3 separate regions of the Homo sapiens genome follow, and all the other regions are linked to region 2. Evidence: promoter capture Hi-C in 16 types of primary human blood cells and fetal thymus (Javierre and others, 2016). All regions are on one chromosome and are shown on one strand. Each heading gives the region's core, a stretch centred on a gene start or on the middle of the fragment in contact. The rest is flanking DNA. Distances are from core to core; before and after follow the strand shown.

Region 1 (2,884 bases), core at 20-2,519, 320 kb before region 2:
AATGTACACTAAAAGTAAATATCTGATTTTAAAACTATAATGGTAAAGTACATTTAATCACAAATATGATAAATAGGCTGGGCACAGTGGCTCACGCCTGTAATCCCAGCACTTTGGGAGGCCGAAGCAGGTGGATCGCCTGAGATCAAGAGTTCCGGAGGCCGGGCGCGGTGGCTCATGCCTGTAATCCCAGCACTTTGGGAGGCCCAGGGTGGGCGGATCACAAGGTCAGGAGATCCAGACCATCCTGGCTAACACGGTGAAACCCCGTCTCTACTAAGAATACAAAGTTAGCCGGGCGTGGTGGCGGGCGCCTGTAGTCCCAGCTACTCAGAAGGCTGAGGCAGGAGAATGGCGTGAACCCGGGAGGCGGAGCTTGCAACGAGCCTAGATCGCGCCACTGCACTCCAGCCTGGGCGACAGAGTGAGACTCCGTCTTAAAAAAAAAAAAAAAAAAAAAAAAAAATAGTTCAAGACCAGTCTGGCCAACATGGTGAAACCCGGTCTCTACTGAAAATACAAAAAATTAGCCAGGGTGGTAGCGGGCGCCTGTAATCCCAGCTACTCGGGAGGCCGAGGCAGGAAAATCGCTTGAATCCCAGAGGTGGAGGTTGCAGTGAGCCGAGACCGTGCCATTGCACTCCAGCCTGGGCAACAACAGCGAAACTCCGTTTCAATATATATATATATGTTAAATCATAGATCCTTCTAATATACACTAAAACTAAACACACCACACACACACACACACACACCCCCCCAAGAAGTGACAGCACCGTGGGTCCCTACAGGGTCGAGGCTCGCACTTTGCAGGCTGTTGTGGGCTGGATGAGAGGCCACCTGGGGACGTCACCGAGCCAGCAGCGCTGACAGGAGGGCCCCCGTACCCACCGTTCTCTGGACTCAGAGCGCAGTGGCGGCGGCCCCTGCTCGTCGACAGACGTCCTCAGAGACCACGCGGCACCTTCAGGTGACAGGCCGAGGTCCGCGGCGGACCCGGTCCAGGAGGCTCAGCTCGCACGCCCTCGGATCGGGACCCGCTGAACCCGGGTGCCCGAGGGAGCTTGGCGGCCGCTCCAGGCGGGATCGCTGGGGGCTCCGGTCGCCCTGGTCCCCTCCCCTCCCCGGGCCGCACTCACCGAACTCCATCCAGTCCCACTCGCTGAGCGCGTCCATGTTGCGGCACAGGTCGTCCAGCACCCAGGAGGGCAGCTGGTAGATGTAGCAGGCCATGGCACGCTACGGGGCCGGCTCCGGCGCGGGACGACTGGGTCGGACACTGCGGGCTGCGGCTTCTCTAGCCAGGGGCGGACCGGCGGGGAAGTGGGCGGGGCGGGAGGGCACCAGCGTCCCCAGCGGCCACGGGCGGCACGACGGCCCCGCCGGCTCCACCCCAGCGCCGGCCAGAGAATCGGAACTGCGAGGGGAAACTGAGGCCCTGGTGGGAGAAGGCCACACGGGAATTCTGCCGCAGCGGCAGGAGGCCTTCTGACCCCACTTCCATCGGCACTACACCATGCATCATGCGCTCATCAAATACTCCATTAATTACCTACTGTATGCCAGGCAACTCCCTAGGTGTTGGTAATACCTGAATAAGAAACCCTACAGCCGGGCGCGGTGGATCACTCCTGTAATCCCAGTACTTTGGGAGGCCGAGGCGGACGGATCACGAGGTCAGGAGTTCGAGACTAGCCTGGCCAATATGGTGAAACCCCGTCACTACTAAAAATACAAAAATTAGCCGGGCACGGTGGCGCACGCCTGTAGTCCCAGCTACCTGGGAGGCTGAGGCAGAAGAATCGCTTGAACCCTGGAGGCGGAGGTTGCAGTAAGCCCAGATTGTGCCCTTGTACTCCAGCCTGGGTGAAGAGTGAGGCTCTGTCTCAAAAAAAAAAAAAAAAAAAAAAAAAAGCCTACAAAAGCCCTTGCTTTCATAAGACTTACAATCTAGGTGTGGAGAGAAAGACTAACAATAAATAATAAATATAGTATGTTACAGAGTGTCTTAAAGGTAATAAGCACTATTGCAAAAAAAAAAAAAAAGGAAAAAAAGTTGGTTAAAGGGAATCAGGAATTCAGATTGAGCATGGGGAATATTCTATTAAATAGGGTAGTCAGGTAGACTTTACTATAGTAGCTAATATGTATCGTGCAGCTACTATGTGCCAGGCACTGTTGTAGGTGCTGGGAATACCTCTGAAGAGAAGGACAAAATCCTTGTCCTGGAGGGAGACAGACAACAAGCAATAAAAATAGGCAGATAAGCTATGTTGGAGAATGAAAGTAGAAGCCTGGGCAACATAGGAAGATCTTATCTCTACAAAAAACTTTTTTTTTTTGAGACGGAGTCTTGCTCTGTAGCCCAGGCTGGAGTGCAGTGGCGCAATCTTGGCTCACTGCAGCCTCTGCCTCCCAGGTCCCGGTTCAAGCAATTCTCCTGCCTCAGTCTCCCGAGTAGCTGGGATTACAGGCACGCGCCACCACGCCCAGCTAATTTTTGTATTTTTAGTAGAGACAGGGTTTCACTGTGTTGGCCAGGATGGTCTTGAACTCCTGACCTCGTGATCCGCCTGCCTCGGCCTCCCAAAGTGCTAGGATTACAGGCATGAGCCACCACGCCTGGCCTCTACAAAAAATTTTAAAATGAGCCAAGCATGGTAGTGTACACCTATAGTCCCAGCTACTCAGGAGGCTAAGGTGGTAGGATCTCTTGAACCCAGGAGTTTGAGGCTGCAGTGAGCTATGACTGCACTGCAGCCTGAGTGACAGAATGAGACCCTGTCTCTGAAAAAAAAAAAAAAAAAAAGAAAGAAAAGAAAGAATAAAAGTAGAGGGTGGTAAAAGGGAGTGCAAGTGGCCAATTGCATTATCTTAGATGATA
Region 2 (3,073 bases), core at 96-2,595:
CAGCCTGGGCGACATGGTGAAACCCCGTCACTAAAATACAAAAAATTAGCCGGGTGTGGTGGCGGGCACCGCACCTGTAATTCCAGCTACTCAGGAGGCAAAGGCAGGGGAATCGCTTGAACCCGGGAGGTGGAAGTTGCAGTGAGTCGAGATCGGGCCACTGCACTCTAGCCTGGGTGACAGAGCGAGACTCTGTCTCCAAAAAACAAAAACCAAAACACATTAGGAAAATGTTCACACCAAACTCAAAGTGGAGACTGGGGAGGGAGTGAAAACTGGAAGCACGCAGTAAAGGGGAATTTACTTTTATCCCTTTCATTTCTTAAACAAGAAAAACAGGAAACCTATACATATATATATTGTTTCACAATGACTAATTCTGATGGTAGGAATGTGGGCAGTCATTATATTATTCTTTTTTTTCTGTGTTCTTCTACTTTCTTTTTCTTTTTTCTTTTTTTTTTTTTTTTGAGACGGAGTCTCGCTCGTCGCCCAGGCTGGAGTGCAGTGGCACGATCTCGGCTCACTGCAAACTCCGCCTCCCGGGTTCACGCCATTCTCCTGCCTCAGCCTCCCGAGTAGCTGGGACTACAGGCGCCCGCCACCACGCCCGGCTAATTTTTTTGTATTTTTGGTGGAGACGTGGTTTCACCGTGTTAGCCAGGATGGTCTCGATCTCCTGACTTCGAGGGGCCACAGGACTAGTAGAGCCAAGAGTTGAGGGTCCGGGTGGGGTGATCCGGCCGTCAGAAATGCAAAAGCCTGGAAAGACATCTCCAAAGGCCAATCTCAGGTTGGACAATCGTGAGCTGGGGAAGCTGCAAACACTGTGACCTCCGGAATAACCGCTGGTAATCAGTTACCTCTAACCCTTAGCAGAATTCAGGTCCCTCTACTACTCCTAACCTGGTGGCCTTTCATTAACTCTATGAAGCCAGTTTAGTTCGGGGGAAGGGCAATTATCATTTAGACTACGAACTAATTTCTCCCAAAGTTAGCTTGGCCCAAGCCCAGGAATGACCAAGGACCGTTTAGAGGTTAAAGGCAAGCTGCGGGTTGGTTAGATCAGATCTCTTTCGCTGTCATAATTTTGTAATATAATTTTTGCAAAGGCGGCTTCAGGTTTTTTGCTAAGACAGGTTTTTTGATCAGATCAAATTCTTCTGCTACAGCGCTCTCCCTAAAAGCATAGGAAGGCATTTCTGCATTTCCTTCCTGGGCGGAGGAAAAGCCCCGCCTCCTCAGGCTCTGAGTCCCGCCCGGTCACCATTCCGATTGACACTCCAGCTGACCAATCAGCGCGCTGGCTGGAGCGCGGGTCTGCCCCTCTGGACGCACATGCGCGCTGTCCTGGCTCGGGAGATGGACGGCCGCCGTGTTTTGGGCCGGTTCTGGAGTGGCTGGCGGCGGGGCCTGGGTGTCCGCCCAGTGCCCGAGGACGCAGGCTTTGGCACCGAAGCCCGGTGATTAAGTACCCCCTCTCTCATGCGGGACGGAGGCTAGGGCAGGGGGAAGGCACGTGCGGGATCTGGATCAGGTAGATGTTACCCGAAAACAGCCCCGTTGGCCTCTCTGAGCCTCGGTGCCCTCCGCTGTAGAATGGGACCGGTCGTACCTGAATTTTCGAGGTCAGCCCAGACATTGTGAGGCATTTGTCAGAGGCCGCAGGATTTGGGAAGAGGCGTCCGGAGATAGGAATGGGTGGCACCTCGGGATGGAATGACTCCCATTGCTTCTCCCTCCTTGTCCAGGCATCAGAGGCAACCCCGCGGCTCCTGCCAACGGTCGGGGCCCCTCGGGGACCAGCCCTTCGCGGGGCTGCTGCCAAAAAACCTCAGTCGGGAGGAGCTGGTTGATGCGCTGCGGGCAGCCGTGGTGGACCGGAAAGGTGAGGGGTGAGAGGCACGGCCGCACAAGGACCGGGAGGGGACTGCCTCGGCGTGCAGTTGGGCTCTCCATTGAAGCCACGGGATCAGCCCTGCTTCTGCCTCCCACTAGCAGCATGAGCTGGGACAAGCCACCTAATTTGCACCCTCTCCCCGCTTTTAACCCTACTGCCATGATGCAGTAGGGTTAAGAGTGGGGAGAAGATGCAAATAACTACCGAGCCTTGCACATAGCCGGCGCTCAGTTACGGGAGTTGCTATACTAGATTATTGTTTATTGGCCGCGGTGGCTCACGCCTGTAATCCCGGCACTTTAGGGTGCTGACGCGGGCGGATCACCTGAGGTCAGGAGTTCGAGACTAGCCTGGCCAACATGGTGAAACCCCGTCTCTACTAAAAACACAAAAATTAGCCAGGTGTGGCGGCGTCCGCCTGTAATCCCAGCTACTCGGGAGGCTGAGGCAGGAGAGTCACTTGAACCCGGATAGCAGAGGTTGCAGTGAGCCGACATCGTGCTACTGCGCTCCAGCCTGGGATGACAGAGCAAGACTCAGTCTAAATAAATAAATAAATAAATAATGATTATTTATCGACGGACAAAACACAGGCTTTGGAGTCAGACATACCTAGGCTCTGTGATCAGCTTGCTGTGCGGCTTTAGGAAAATAACTGAATTTCTCTGAACCCCACTCTCTATTCAGTGATTTATTCCTTTTCTCAACTATTTCTTGAACATATGCTATGTTCCAGGCACTGTTCTAGGCAGGCTATACAGTGCTGAAAAAGATAGATATGGTTTCTGCTCTCAGGGGAGAAATGGATTTCTCTCTAACGGGAGAAATGGATGTCAGAAAATAAATGAACAAGTTACTAGTGGTAAGTGCTATGCATAAACTAAAACAGGGTGTTATGATGGTGAGGAACTGCAGGAGGAAGGCAGACATTAGATTGGAGATTCAGACCTCTCCGTGATGTGACATTTGAGCCAAGATGATAGGGAGCCAGACCTGGGAAATTTGGGGACAGGAAACAGCAAGTGCCGAGGCTCTGAGGTGGCAGAGGAACAGAAAGAAGTTGAATTTGGTGTGGGGTAGTTAACTCATGTCTGAGAGTCATGATGGGGACATGTGCTAAGATGCGTGAGAAAGTGCTCTGGAAACTCTTTAGTGCTGCATAAAGGGTTACCG
Region 3 (3,189 bases), core at 1-2,500, 300 kb before region 2:
ACAATGCCTAGTGAAGTCAGTTAACTTTCTTTTAAGCAATGGTGCCTATTTTACTCTGAGAATGAGACACTTTGAAACTAAGGAAGGAACCAGTCCTGTATCTAGATCAAGACTCATCAGTACCATCAAAAGCTGAGATGAAACAGTGTAAGTTTCAACAGAAATCTTCAATCTCCCATCCGTTGATGTGCAATGCGCTCCTGTGTCAGCCGCTCCAGGTCTTTCTGCACATTTGGGTGGTCTTCCAGATCTTCGTAGAGCGACCTGACGATGTCCAGTCTCCTGTAATTCTCAGGCTTGACTAGGCTCCGGACAACCTGGAGGCATCGCTCTTTCAGAGTATACACTGGAAGGGCAAAAACCAAATCCTCAGTGGCAGACTAGGGTCTCAGTACAAGGAACGAACAAGAGGCTTTGCCAACAACTACCTGTACTACTGATGGATCTCACTTTAGGTTAAAGAAAAAAAGTGAGTGCATGTATGTGGCAGTGTGTTATGCTGATGGCCCCCTATGGACACCTCATGGTGTTCATGCCTCTGTAGTAATTTCACCTTGAAATGGGCTGGGCTTGTGATTGCTTTAACTAACTGAATGTGGATGAAGCGACACTGGCAATTCTAGGCCGAAGCCTTAAAAAGGCCTGCTGACTTCTGCTTTTATACTTTTGAAAGCCCTGAGCTACCCTGCTAGAGAGACCACATAAAGAGGAACAGGCCCTGGCCAGGCATGGTGGTTCATGCCTGTGATCCCAACACTTTGGGAGGCCAACGTCAGTAGATCGCCTGAGCTCAGGAGTTCGAGACCAGCCTGGCAACATGGCGAAACCCCGTCTCTACAAAATACACAAAAAATTAGCCAGGCATGGTGGCACATGCCTGTGGTCCCAGCGACTGGGGAGGCTGAGGTGGGAGGATCACTTGAGCCCTGGAGGCAGAGGTTGCAGTGAGCTAAGATCATGCCACTGCACTCCAACCTGGGTGACAGAGTGAGACCCTATCTTGAAAAAAAAGAAAAAAGAAAAGAGAAAAAAAAAAAAGAGGGACAGGCCCAGCCCCCAGCTGCCAGCAAAAGGCAGCCACACCAACGACTACCACCAGCAGAGTAACTGCCTAGCTGAGCCCAGCCTGGACTACAGAATTATGAACAAATAAAATGGTGGGCTGGGCGCAGTGGCTCACGCCTGTAATCCTAGCACTTTAGGAGGCTGAGGCAGGCAGACTGCCTGAGCTCAAGAGTTCAAGATCAGCCTGGTCAACATGGTGAAACCCCCGTCTCCACTAAAATGCAAAAAATTAGCCAGGCTTGGTGGTGCACACCTGTAGTCCCAGCTGCTGAAGCAGGAGAATCGCTTGAACCCGAGAGGCAGAGGTTGCAGTGAGCCAAGATCACACGCCACTGCACTCCAGCCTGGGTGACACAGTGAGACTCTGTCTCAAAAAAAAAAAAAAGGTGGTTATTAGTTTTGGGGTGGTAGTCACAAAACACATAACCAAAACAATGTGTACTTAGAAAATCTAGGCCGGGCGCGGTGGCTCACGCCTGTAATCCCAGCACTTTGGGAGGCCGAGGCGGGCGGATCACGAGGTCAGGAGATCGAGACCATCCCGGCTAAAACGGTGAAACCCCGTCTCTACTAAAAATACAAAAAATTAGCCGGGCGTAGTGGCGGGCGCCTGTAGTCCCAGCTACTTGGGAGGCTGAGGCAGGAGAATGGCGTGAACCCGGGAGGCGGAGCTTGCAGTGAGCCGAGATCCCGCCACTGCACTCCAGCCTGGGCGACAGAGCGAGACTCCGTCTCAAAAAAAAAAAAAAAAAGAAAATCTAGTACAACTGAATTGGGTATCCCAATTCCTATTTTACACTCACTGGAAACGTACTCGAGGGTATTCTATAAGGCAAATTTACCAAATTTAACTTAGCAATGCTCATTTTTATATATCTACTTCCTTAAAACAGGATCTATACACACATAGTAGTTTGAATCCTATGAAACCCATGTATTTGGGGGGTTTTTGAGTTTTTTTTTTCTTTTTTTGAGACAGGATCTCACTCTGTCACCTGGGCTGGAGTGCAGTGGTATGATCATGGCTCACTGCAGCCTCAAACTCCTGGGCTCAAGGGATCCTCCCACCTAAGCCTCCCAAATAGCTGTGACCACAGGCATATGCTAAGATGCCCAGGTAATTAAAAAAAAATTTTTTTGTGGAGCTGGGGTCTCACTTTGTTGTCCAGGCTGGTCAAGAACTCCTGGTCTCAAGCGACCCTCCCGCCATAGCCTCCCTAAGTGCTGGAATTACAGGCATGATTACAGGCAGGAGCCACCACACACTGCTGGTCTTTAGTGAGGTTTTTTTTACCCACAGGAACATCAGTTTATTAGGGTTTACCCTGATAAAATCATTTGAGCTTCAAACAAATAGTGAAGTATTATACCAATCTTCAATGATTTAAAAAAAAAAAAAAACAGGCTGGACGCAGTGGCTCACGCCTGTAATCCCAGCACTTTGGGAGGCTGAGGTGGGCAGATCACCTGAGGTCAGGAGTTCAAGATCAGCCTGGCCAACATGGTGAAACCTCATCTCTACTAAAAATACAAAAATTAGCCAGGTGTGGTGACAGGCACCTATAACCCCAGCTACCCAGGAGGCTGAGGCAGGAGAATCACTTGAACCCAGGATGCAGAGGTTGCAGTGAGCTGAAATCGCACCACTGCACTCCAGCCTGGATGACACTGTGAGACTCTCTAAAAATAAAAATAAAAAAAAAAAAAACACCTCTGATTGGCACTGTGAGCTTGATTGTGTTAAATTGAAAATACATAGGCCAGGTGCTGTGGCTGATGCCTGTAATCCCAGCACTTTGGGAGGCGTAGGCGGGCAGATCATGAGGTCAGGAGATGGAGACCATCCTGGCTAACACGGTGAAACCCCGTCTCTACTAAAAATACAAAAAATTATCAGAGTGGGTGGCACACGCCTGTAGTCCCAGCTACTCGGGAGGCTGAGACAAGAGAATCACTGGAACCCAGTAGGCGGAGGTTGCAGTGAGCCGAGATTGCGCCACTGCACTCCAGCCTAGCTAACACAGCGAGATTCTGTCTCAAAAAAATAAAAAAAATTAGAAGTCAGCAACAAATAAGCCAAAATATCTCATGCTCTACACATTGTTCTCCTGGAACTCCAGGGCA

What was found. The method cuts DNA at HindIII sites, captures the fragments that hold promoters and counts their contacts. A CHiCAGO score of 5 or more calls a contact.
Region 1: a contact is called between the fragment with the promoter of IRAK2 here and the fragment with the promoter of RPUSD3 in region 2, in 1 of 17 cell types (activated CD4 T cells). The highest score is 5.3, in activated CD4 T cells.
Region 3: a fragment that was not itself captured here is called in contact with the fragment with the promoter of RPUSD3 in region 2 in 1 of 17 cell types (total CD8 T cells); the score reaches 6.3 in total CD8 T cells.

The regions. Positions count from the first base shown.
Region 1 is chr3:10,163,304-10,166,187 of GRCh38, reverse strand. It overlaps IRAK2 (interleukin 1 receptor associated kinase 2), which reads right to left and starts at 1,269. Exons shown (of 13, transcript NM_001570.4): 1 at 1,140-1,269. The coding sequence starts at 1,233. RefSeq lists silencers at 955-1,104, 1,305-1,434. The HindIII fragment of the contact is 5,632 bases long and covers 1-2,884 here.
Region 2 is chr3:9,842,280-9,845,352 of GRCh38, reverse strand. It overlaps RPUSD3 (RNA pseudouridine synthase D3), which reads left to right and starts at 1,345. Exons shown (of 9, transcript NM_173659.5): 1 at 1,345-1,463; 2 at 1,752-1,888. The coding sequence starts at 1,363. RefSeq lists an enhancer at 1,403-1,482. The HindIII fragment of the contact is 7,859 bases long and covers 1-3,073 here.
Region 3 is chr3:10,146,944-10,150,132 of GRCh38, reverse strand. It overlaps VHL (von Hippel-Lindau tumor suppressor), which reads right to left. Exons shown (of 3, transcript NM_000551.4): 3 at 1-346. The coding sequence ends at 168. Among named protein-coding and RNA genes, the nearest start is that of VHL, 6.8 kb to the right of the region's middle. The HindIII fragment of the contact is 5,547 bases long and covers 1-3,189 here.